2 separate regions of the Homo sapiens genome follow, and region 1 is linked to region 2. The links are contacts of gene promoters, found by promoter capture Hi-C in human tissues and cell types (Jung and others, 2019). All regions are on one chromosome and are shown on one strand. The core of a region is centred on a gene start or on the middle of the fragment in contact, and the rest is flanking DNA. Distances in the headings are between cores, read along the strand shown. Region 1 overlaps FRAS1 (Fraser extracellular matrix complex subunit 1). Region 2 holds the start of PAQR3 (progestin and adipoQ receptor family member 3).

The links. The method cuts DNA at HindIII sites, captures the fragments that hold promoters and counts their contacts. A contact is called where the count stands out against the background at its distance.
Region 1: a contact is called between a fragment that was not itself captured here and the fragment with the promoter of PAQR3 in region 2, in 1 of the 25 tissues and cell types used here (stomach).

The regions. Positions count from the first base shown.
Region 1 is chr4:78,063,846-78,069,156 of GRCh38, reverse strand. FRAS1 (Fraser extracellular matrix complex subunit 1) reads right to left here. Exons shown (of 74, transcript NM_025074.7): 2 at 3,141-3,172. LOC107986293 (a long non-coding RNA gene) reads right to left here and starts at 1,251. Exons shown (of 2, transcript XR_001741746.1): 1 at 468-1,251. The HindIII fragment of the contact is 3,741 bases long and covers 754-4,494 here.
Region 2 is chr4:78,937,250-78,942,635 of GRCh38, reverse strand. PAQR3 (progestin and adipoQ receptor family member 3) reads left to right here and starts at 3,198. Exons shown (of 6, transcript NM_001040202.2): 1 at 3,198-3,596. The coding sequence starts at 3,412. RefSeq lists silencers at 3,019-3,508, 3,599-3,668. The HindIII fragment of the contact is 22,278 bases long and covers 1-5,386 here.

The sequences.
Region 1 (5,311 bases), core at 1,375-3,874, 870 kb after region 2:
AAAACAGTGAGCATGTGGGTAAAATTACAAAGTTTGGAACAGGGACACCAATCACTATTCTCAGAGCCAGCTCTTGAAAATGACGCCTCTTACACTAGAAGCCTTTGTCACCCAAAAAGTTGTATAATCAGAGAATCCTAGAATCATATAGTAATGTTCTTGAACCCTTCAATTCAAAATACATGAACATACATTCACTCTCCAATTTCACTGATGTAGACACAATGCTTTTCTTTAACGCTAGGGCATGTGGAGAGAGAGCAGCAGTGAATGATGTAGATAATAAACCAAGTCCACAATGCATCATCTACCATTTCCAGTTTCATTGTCCTTAAAATGGAAAGAGAACTTAAAGTGGTTACAAATAAACCCGAATGCAGAATCTCTCTAGATTTTGAAATATTTTCTCAATCTTGTACAGCTGTTTTTCCTACACTTAATTTGACAGAAATTTTTTAGTGACTCACCCCTATGGAGTCTTTTTAAAGTATTTAATATAGTTTCCCTGGAAACAAGCACACTCTCATTTCAGCAGTTTAATTAGATGATAAGTCCAGTGTTGCCATTCCTCCTCTCTGGCACCTCCAATGGCTCATCCACCTTCCTGAAAGGACAAGCTAAAGTCTGCACAAGGCTCACCATGCTCTGACCCCTGCCATCCTCCCTGACCTATCTCTTGCCATCCTCCATGCACTGCCTCAAATGCCCATAGGAGCTCTTGCTTCAGACTTTACATTTCTGCTCCCTATCTCTGGAATTCTCTCCCCTTGGGTATCCACCAGGCTAGCTCCTTATAATTACCTCTTTCAGTATGTCTTTGATCAAATGTCACCTTCTCAGTGAAGCCTTCCCTATCACCCTATCTAAAGTAGCCACCTTCATCCCCTATTGAGCCTTTTCTATCCGTTCCACCTCCACAATATTTTTCCCCATAGCCCACCTATCTGACATTCTATATATTTTACTTATTAGAATTCAAGCTCTATGAAGGCAGGCATTTTCATCTGTTTGTTCACAGATGCATTCCAGTGCATAGAATAGCAGGTCTCTAATTGTCATTCAATAAATATTTGTTTAATAATTTTATTATTGTAATAAATATATTGTCTCTCAGACTGAATTGCATAACTACAATAACAAGTATCTCAGGCTTGAAGAGGTTCAGAAACAAATGTAGCAGGCCAGGCTCAGTGGCTTATGCCTGTAATCCCAGCACTTTGAGATCAGGAATTCAAGACCAGCCTGGCCAACATGCCAAAACCCCGTCTCTACTAAAAATACAAAAAAAAAAAAAAATTGGCTGGGTGTGGTGGTGTGCAGCTGTAGTCCCATCTACTTGGGAGGCTGAAGCAGGAGAATCACTTGAACCCTAGAGGCAGAGGTTGCAGTGAGCCAAGATCCCTGCACTCCAGCCTGGGTGACAGAGCGAGACCCTATCTTACAAATAATAATAATAATAATAATAATAATAATAATAATAATAAAAGAAAGAAAAAAAAAGAAAAAGAAACAAATGTAGCAGAGCCTTGGTAAGCAAAGAAGTCACCTGGAAGAATGAGGAGCGTGCTGGTGTGGGAGGGTGCAGCCCACTAATCTTGAGCAGCCATGAGCCCTGGGATCAGCTAGGGCATGGTACAGAGGGAAGCAAGGTCATCCAATAAATTCAAGTTGGCTGGGCTGTTTCTCCTTTTAACTTGATCAAACTGACCTCTCCAATTACTTGATCCTTTCATATTCAAATGTACAATAACACATAGCAAAGTTAAATATAGAAGATGGTCTAGCCACTTTTTTTCACATATAGGCAGAACAACAGAAGAAGACAGGATGTCTTGTTCTGGTCCACCACTAATGGTGAATTACCTCTAGCAAATCTCTTCATCTCTCTCTCTCATCTTTTCCATTAAAAGGGGAAAGAGTATGGAATGATACATGGCCTGCCTATTTCATTGGTCTATTATAAGTATCAGACATATGAATACTTATGAAAATATATGGAAAAGTTATGAAGTACTCTACACAATAAATAATTCTCTTTTATTAGCACGGATAACTGACTTGTCTAAATATCTACTGTAGCTCCCCAAAAGTGATAATATATTTTAGAGCAAATGATTCCTAAAATATATTAAAGAATAAACAGGGCAGGATATGGAATGACAAATACAATAAAAATGGCTTTTTCCTAATTTTTGATAGAAAAATATTTAAAAAATAAACTTCTCCAGCAGTAACTACAGTATATAAAGTGCAGATTCAAGGATATTATGGTGAATATCTACAGTTATCTAGACTCTAAGATACTTCAGATATTCCTCAGCTATTTCAATACCACAAGGATAATCCAGGATGACTTATCAATATCACACATGTCAATAGCAGGTTGTGATGTAAATGAGCAAATTCTTTCCAACCATCTCAGTTCAGTTTTATTATAGCATTTATTAAACCAAAATAAAAACATGGTGAAGAATGATTTGTCACACCATTTATTAGAGTTGATGGAGTGTAGACAGTCTTTTCAATAAGGCTTTAACACACTGTTATGCACCATAGTGCATTAGTAATGAAAAGAAATGCATGAGACTTACATCAGCCTTTCCCCCAAGTCATTCTGACATTAAATTCAAAATCAATTTTACCCTATATGGCAAGAGTTCAGAAATAAATGTTAATTTCTTTGCTGTTCACCAAAACTTAAGTTTATAATTCAAAGTAACAACAGAAATCCTTCCTATTCTACTTAATTTAATAATCATACTTTTTTTGGAGAAGGGTTCAAAGTGGGAAGCAAATGCAACCAGAAGTTAAAAAATTGTGTTTCAGTTTGTATCTGACAAAAGGATGGGATCTAATTTTCTCTCTGATTAAAAGAACACAAAGAACAGCCACAGAATGTAAATCGTGTGTTGAGTGTTTGAATTTCTCTTCCAATACCTGAGTATCTGAATAGAACTAATTCACTCTGGAAAAGGTATTAAATAATTGAGCATCATTGTGCCCGAATGAGGGCTAATTGTCAAACGTTGAAGAAAAATAAACATATTCTACAATGATAGGGTCAACTCACTCACTCAGGAACTTCAATCAAGCATTTTACATTCAAATGACAGAAACCAAGTATGTAAAGAATGACCTACCGCCAACAAGGAATCCTGATAGACACAAGCACCTGTGGGGAAAAACAAAACAAGAATTAAAAGGGATGCATAATAAACCAATAGGCACTGCCCCAGCAAGCTTGCTGCTAAAACTGCATCTATATGCATCATAACCAGGAAAATGAGCTTCTTCCAAAATCTTAAAAGCTTCAGCATTCTTCCCCTGGGGAAATAACCCCATACACCAAAACAACATTCCTTGGACACACATGAGGAAAAGCATCATTAAAACTTATGACTTGAATTTTAAGATAAATGTGTTTATAACGACATGCTATAAATACAGTAAATATTTTTCTTGGTGATAAGTCAGCAAAGCCTCCATAATCCAGTCCCATTTACTTATCCAGGCTTCCCTGCCACTGTTTGCTTACACTAAGCCTCCAGTCCAACCCAAGAGGCCAACTTAGAATCCTGTAATATATTTACATGTCTCAATGCCTTTGCTCATTTTCATTTTCTACAGGAGATGTACTTTGTCTAGTCAAGCTCTTTGAACTTGATCCCATCTCCTTTGTGAAACTTCTGCCCACCAGATTATGCTCCTCTGAGCTCCTAGCATTTTGTGCCTACATCCTCCATTTGTGAATTTATTCTTGTGTATTTCCTTTCTAAGGATGTTGAAATGTTGTATTTACCCCACTACATTATATATATGTGTGTGTGTACTACATATAGAGAGAATATATACACTATATATACCATTACATATATACTATTACATATATAGTATATACATATATATACACATGTATACCCACTATATACTATATACCATATATAGTACATATATAGTATATACACATATATACACATATATATACATATATACCCACTATATACTATATATAGTATATATATAATATATAGTATAAATAGCATATGTAGTATTTAGTGTGTGTGTGTGTATGTATATATATATATATATATATATATACACTATAAAACTGAAATCTTAACTTAAAAAAAATATAGACACATTCCCAACCAATTTTTGAGCTGCACAACAGGTCTTGATTTAACTTAGAAAGAGATGGGCAGTGTGCTGTCACCTACTCTCTCAGAAACTGAGTCTGCAAAACACATTTGAACAGTATATACACACCAAGGTGAAGCATATCTTAACAATGCTCCACACAGTTGGTTTCTAAAGAGAGAAGGACATTATTTTACCACAGTGCTTACCTCTAATGGATCATTTATGAAGTCCCAATAATATTAACTTCTCAGGAAAGAATTGGTCTACCTTCTCCTCCAGTAATGGAATTAAGAACAATCTTTAAAAAAACTGAGATGACTATTTACACTTAGGTTTGAATCAAAGATCTCTGTGGGCAAATTTATTGAAATAATTTTTATGTCCCTGATATTCTTTTTTTTTTTCTTGGTATACAACAATTTTATTGGTGTTTTAATATAATTCACCCAGAATATGAAGGCATCACATTAGCTAAGTACAAGGCATATGTATAAGCAAAAATTATAAATTTATGACACCCTTGTGCCTTTCTCCTAATGACATTTCCAACTTTTAATGGTTTGTATTTCTTCCTCTGCAGACATAGGATAATTAATATAAATATGTCATTTTTGAGTTTATATTTTACACAAACTTATTATTTTACTTTAAAATAGTTTCTAGCCATGGCATTAATATTTATTAAAATTTCTGTACATATGAAAAAAGGAATTTATTTCTATACATATGAAAGAAAGGAATAGGGAGTGTCTATAAATGAATGATTTTATAGACACTCCCTATTTTTTTATTTTATTTATTTATTTATTTTTATTATTATTCTTTAAGTTCTAATAAGAATAACTTGAGATAAAACCTTGAAGGAAAATTCTTCTTAATTGACTACTTTTTCCTTAAGAAATCTTGTTCCAAGACTTAGTAGTTCAGTCTATGGTATGTTATAAGAAAGGAAATATATATATGTGTACATATGTATGTGTGTGATGTGTGTACTAAAATAATTCTATATATCTCAAATAAATACATATGAACACAATTCACTTTCTAAATTACTTATATGGACATATTTAATTATTTCTGGTGTTTAGAAAATTTAGAATAAAGATCATCATCACTTAGGTACAATTTAACAAAATTTAAACTTTAGATTAAACAAAACTTAACTTTTAGA
Region 2 (5,386 bases), core at 1,949-4,448:
AGTCTCGCTCTGTCACCCAGGCTGGAGTGCAGTGGCGCAATCTCGGCTCACTGCCAGCTCCACCTCTCGGATACATGCTATTCTCCTGCCTCAGCCTTCCATGTAGCTGGGACTACAGGCACCCGCTACCACACCCGGCTAATTTTTTGTATTTTTAGTAGAGACAGGGTTTCACGGTGTTACCCAGGATGGTCTCAATCTCCTGACCTCGTGATCCGCCTGCCTCGGCCTCCCAAAGTGCCATTTTTAGTTCTTTACTCTAGTGTCCCATCATTATCATAACTCAGCTACTTTCTCTGTGTCTGATAATCTCTGGGCATCTTTCTACTTTGTTTCAAATAACAGGCTACGGATTCTCTTCCCACATCTCCAGGTCAAATTCCTAAGGAAGTAATTGATTGATCAAACTAATTACCATTGTTCTTGAATGGACATTTGTGCCATCGAATGTCATGGAATACTGATCTACTTTTGGTTCAGCAATAGACTCAAGGTAGTATCATATGGTACCAGCAAGAAATACGTGCAGAAGGAACCTCCTATAAGAGGTCTGTAGGAGTGGCAGGTAGGCATTCTCAGGCATGAACGTCCTACACTAGGAAATGAGAATTTCTATACACAGTAACCTTCAGCAGAGACAATGTACTGAGCATGTAGTAAGTTCTCAAACATTATTTTTAGCTCCATGACTTAAAAAATAAGTCTCACTTACTTCATAGGACATTTAAGTCCACTTAGGATATATTTCAATTTACCTTTCCAGTTTTATTGATTATTTTTCCTTGAACTCTCTATATAGCTTACATTTGTTGAGTGCTAACAGTATGTCTGGTACTTTTCTAAGACTGTTACATGGATTTAGTCATTTAATCCTCAACAACACAAAGTACTGTTATTAGTCTTATTCTACCAATAAGAAAACTGAGGCTCAGAGAGGTTAAGTTACCTGCACTAGGACATGTATTAATAGTTAGTAAATGATTGAACACAAATTCGAACTTAAGTAAATGGCTTCAAAGTCCAATATCTTAATCACTAAGCCATACTGCTTCTCAAAAATCAACCAATATTACTAGCATAATAATAATAGGTATTATGAGTGATTATTGTATGTTGTCAGGGTTCAGAACACCACACCCACCCCAAAGTGTGGTGCTTTGACATGCTGAGTACTTTAAAGGAGACTGGGAAGGCCTCAAAACTAAGGTCTCTCTGAACTTCTTTCCGTCCTCCTTTCTTCCTTTTCCTGTTCTTCCCAAGTGGGTCTTACAACCTAGAATTTCTCTCCCTAAAGGAAGCCATAAAACCTAGTAAGGGGCCGGGCGTGGTGGCTCACGCCTGTAATCTCAGCACTTTGGGAGGCTGAGGCAGGCATATTGTTTGAGGTCAGGAGTTCAAGGGCAGCCTGTCCAACATGGTGAAACCCCATCTCTACGAAAAGTACAAAAATTAGCCGGGCATGGTGGTGGGTGCCTGTAGTCCCAGCTACTCGGGAGGATGAGGCAGGAGAATTGCTTGTACCCGGGAGGTGGAGATTGCGTGACCCGAGATTGTGCCACTGCACTCCAGCCTGGGCTTCAGAGTGAGACTCTGTCTTCCCCCAACAACAACAACAACAAAAAATCTAGTAAGGTTACTTTCTGACTGTCCCTGCCTTTCCGTGGTCACAAAGGAGTTCTGACTTACCTCACCTGAAACTAGGTCATAAAACCCTCATTCTAGAGAGTTCCTGCCCCATACTCTGAGGCCAAGAATTTGAATGAACTGGCCTTGCTAGCTAGGATCCCCCCTCAGTTTATTATCATTAGATGATGCCCCCTTTCAATCATGTTTCTCCACAACTATCCACTCCTTTCATCAGACTTAGCATAAAAAGCCCATTTTTTCCTGGGTCTTTGTGTCTTCATTTCTGAAGACTCCTCTGTCACATAAAACTGTGTTAAATGAATTTATTATCCCTTTTCTTGTTAATTTTTATTATTTATTTTTTGAGACAAAGTCTCGCTTTGTCACCCAGACTGGAGTGCAGTGGCACAAACATGGCTCACTGCAGCCTCGACCTCCCAGGCTCAAGCAACCCTCTCACTTCAGCCCAGAATAGTTTGGGACTACAGGCGCCCATCACCACACCCGACTAATTTTTGTTTTTTGTTTGTTTGGTTGGTTTTTTTTGTAGCGACAGCGTCTCACTATGTTACCCAGGCTGGTCTCCAACTCCTGGGCATAAGCAATCCGCCTGCCTCGGCCTTCCAAAATGTTGGGATTACAGGCATGAGCCACCTGCGCCTGGCTTCTCTTAATTTTTTTCATAGGAATGTCAGCTGTGAACCTTGTGATAAGTGAGGACAAGATATTTTTCTTGCCCTTACAATGCCAAACAATGGACTAAGCGTTCTATTATACACATACGGTACTCAAACTGATGTTTTGCCCTGTTGCCATTATAAGTAAACACTTGCATTACAGTAAATAGCCAGAAACAAAGCTGCAACACTTCCTGTAAACGCTACTATAGCCGCACTCCACAGGATTTTTTAATATGTTCTATATTATTCAGTTAAGTAGATATTCTCATTTCCATTGTGATTTCTTCATCAGCCCTTGAAATATTTGGTGTATTGCTCCTATTCCAGACGTGGAGACTTTTAGTTTTCTTGTTACTCTAGTTTAATTCTACTGTGATCAGAGAACATAACGCTGAAAGGGGTCGGAGTTTTGAATGCACGGGGGCTTTCCTTTATGGCTCAGGATGTGCTCGATGCTGGTGTATGTTCCACGTGCATCAGGTTTCCTCTCTTTCCAATTATCGTGCTAAGAGCTGACTTCAGCTTAGAAATCCTCAAAGTCCCTTCTGACACTAAGTGTGTGTAATTCCAAGCATAAACTAAACGGTAATTACCTCGAACTTTTCTTCCTGTTAACTCTTTTCCTCTTGATTTTTCAAAATGCAGCAACTATTACTTCTAATAAAAAAACAGAAAAAGAAAAAAAATCCACTTGTATTCGCCTGTAGCTCTGTGCTTTCGGCTCTTCTCATATGCAAACGAAGACCCCAGGCGCCGCCAAAACACAGCGTGAGAGACGCCCGGGAGCCCGGGCCGCCGCCAGCGCACGCTCGAGCACACCCGGGCGCGCCCCAGCACCCTGCCCCTCCCAGCTAGGGCTGAGGGGCGGGGCCGCCGCGGCGCGCTGACGTCAGAGGAGGCTGCGACGCTGCCGGGTCCGCCGCGGCGCTGGCGGCAGTGGCCGGTGTGAGCGCAGAGCCGGGCCCTGGGCAGCAGCGGCAGCGCGGTAGGACCTCGCGCAGCGTCCGCGGGCTCCGGGGCGGGGGCGCCAGCGGCGAAGCCCCCTCCCCGGGGAGGCGGGACCTGGGGGAGCTCCCGAGCCGGGGAGCGGCGGCGGCCGGGAACGATGCATCAGAAGCTGCTGAAGAGCGCGCATTACATCGAGCTGGGCAGCTACCAGTACTGGCCGGTCCTGGTGCCCCGTGGCATCCGCCTGTACACCTACGAGCAGATCCCCGGGTCCCTCAAGGACAACCCGTACATCACCGACGGCTACCGGGCCTACCTGCCGTCCAGGCTGTGTATCAAAAGGTACGGTCTGGCTGCCTCCGCCTGGAGTGCCCCCTTCTCTCACCTACACCCTTTTTGTCTGGTCCCCCTTCTGCTTTCCCCGCCTTTCTGCTTGCCCATCATTTCCTCGCCGCCCCATCCTTTTCATCCCTTTTTGCCGCCTCTCCTCCCCCGTTATCTCCCCTTACCTGGCCGGGGTACTTGGTCCACGGAATAATCATGATAGTAACAGTGATCATAATTACAGCTCTCCTATGACGCTTTGCTCTTTACAAAGGGCTTTTACATCCTTTATTCGGTTTGTTCGGCTCATTGAGATATATATTGAAATGGGGCTGAGCCATATTTGCCCGGTGTATACCTTTCTTTTTAGAGCAACACTGTGGGAATTCAGTAGCTTTGGGCCAGATAAGTGCCTGTATAATAGGAAACAAGTTAACATATACACCCGAGATTTATTCATTTGGCAAATACTTATGGAGCCCATGCAGAAAAAAAAGCAAACATGGCCCTTGTTTTCATGAAGCTACTAAGGTGTAGCCTGGGTAACAGACATTAAATAGATAATTACACAATTACATAATAACCATTGTGGAAAAAATGCTGTGTAGGAAAAGTACTGTGGTAAAGAGAGCTCATAACGGGCACCCAGTCTCCACTAGAGCACCACAGAAGCATCTCTAAGAAAGAAATTTCTTTATCATTTTAAACCTTTAAAACCACAGTCCCTTGAAAATCCGTGTTTTAAAAAAACAAAACTGAAAAATAACTATTCTAGTTCTTGGAGTAACTGTCCAAACTTACTACCTGTACTAAAATACAGGACCTCTGCTTCAGGAGAATTAAGATACAGGTGTTGGTTAGCTCCAGGTCGCTGTAGTGGCAAACCCTAGTGCCAGAATGTGGGCTGTTGAATTGCTCAAGCGGCAACCACATGTCTGATTCTTGATTTTTCCAGCATTGTCTTTTCCTGCCCTTCTTTCCTTTTGTCCTGCCATGAAAGTGTTTCTGTGACTCATGGTCACAAGGTGACATCACTGCCCATCCCTACTTGGCTTGAATGGATGGCCCTTAGGATTCACAACTTGAAGCGTAATTACCGTTTTCCTCCCCAGTGCCTCCTGTGCATGAGTAAATTACACAGCTGAGTTCTGCTGTGGATCTGGAGTTCCACAAGAATAGGGCAAGCAGTGAATTGCCTTAAATATTTTCTACTCAACTAGCAGTGGTCTTCTGCGTTCTGATGTTAGGGTCCAAATCTCATGGAGTGGAAAATTAAGTATAGAGCATTAGCTCTTGAGCTATTGAGTCAAAGACTTTAGTATCCAAATCTGCCACTTAACAGCTCTGAGACCTGGAGCAAAATGTAACCTCACTGAGCCTCATTATACCCACATATAAAAATGAGGGTAATCACAGTATCTGCTTCCAGAGGTAAAAAAAGATTCAGTAAGATTCTGTGTGTGAAATGCTATACATGGCCTGGAACCTAATAAGCCGTCAATAAATGGTGATTGTTGTCATCACCAGTGGTTGTGAAGCTGAACAGATGATGATAATGAAGATGATTATTTGATTTTAAAACTGAACAGAATACGAAGATGTGGTGCTGGACTCCTGTTAACTTCAATAAGGATGGCACCAGGTTCGAAAGACGGAAGAAGAGACCCAAAGCCAGTAAACAAGACATAGGGTTTTACTAGGGTAATTTACAGAGAGGTCCAGTGACAGTGGCCTGAACGGGAGAACCTCTGCCGCCTGCAGAAAGCATGCAGTTTAAATAGCATTTTTACTTAGCACCCTTCCCCCTA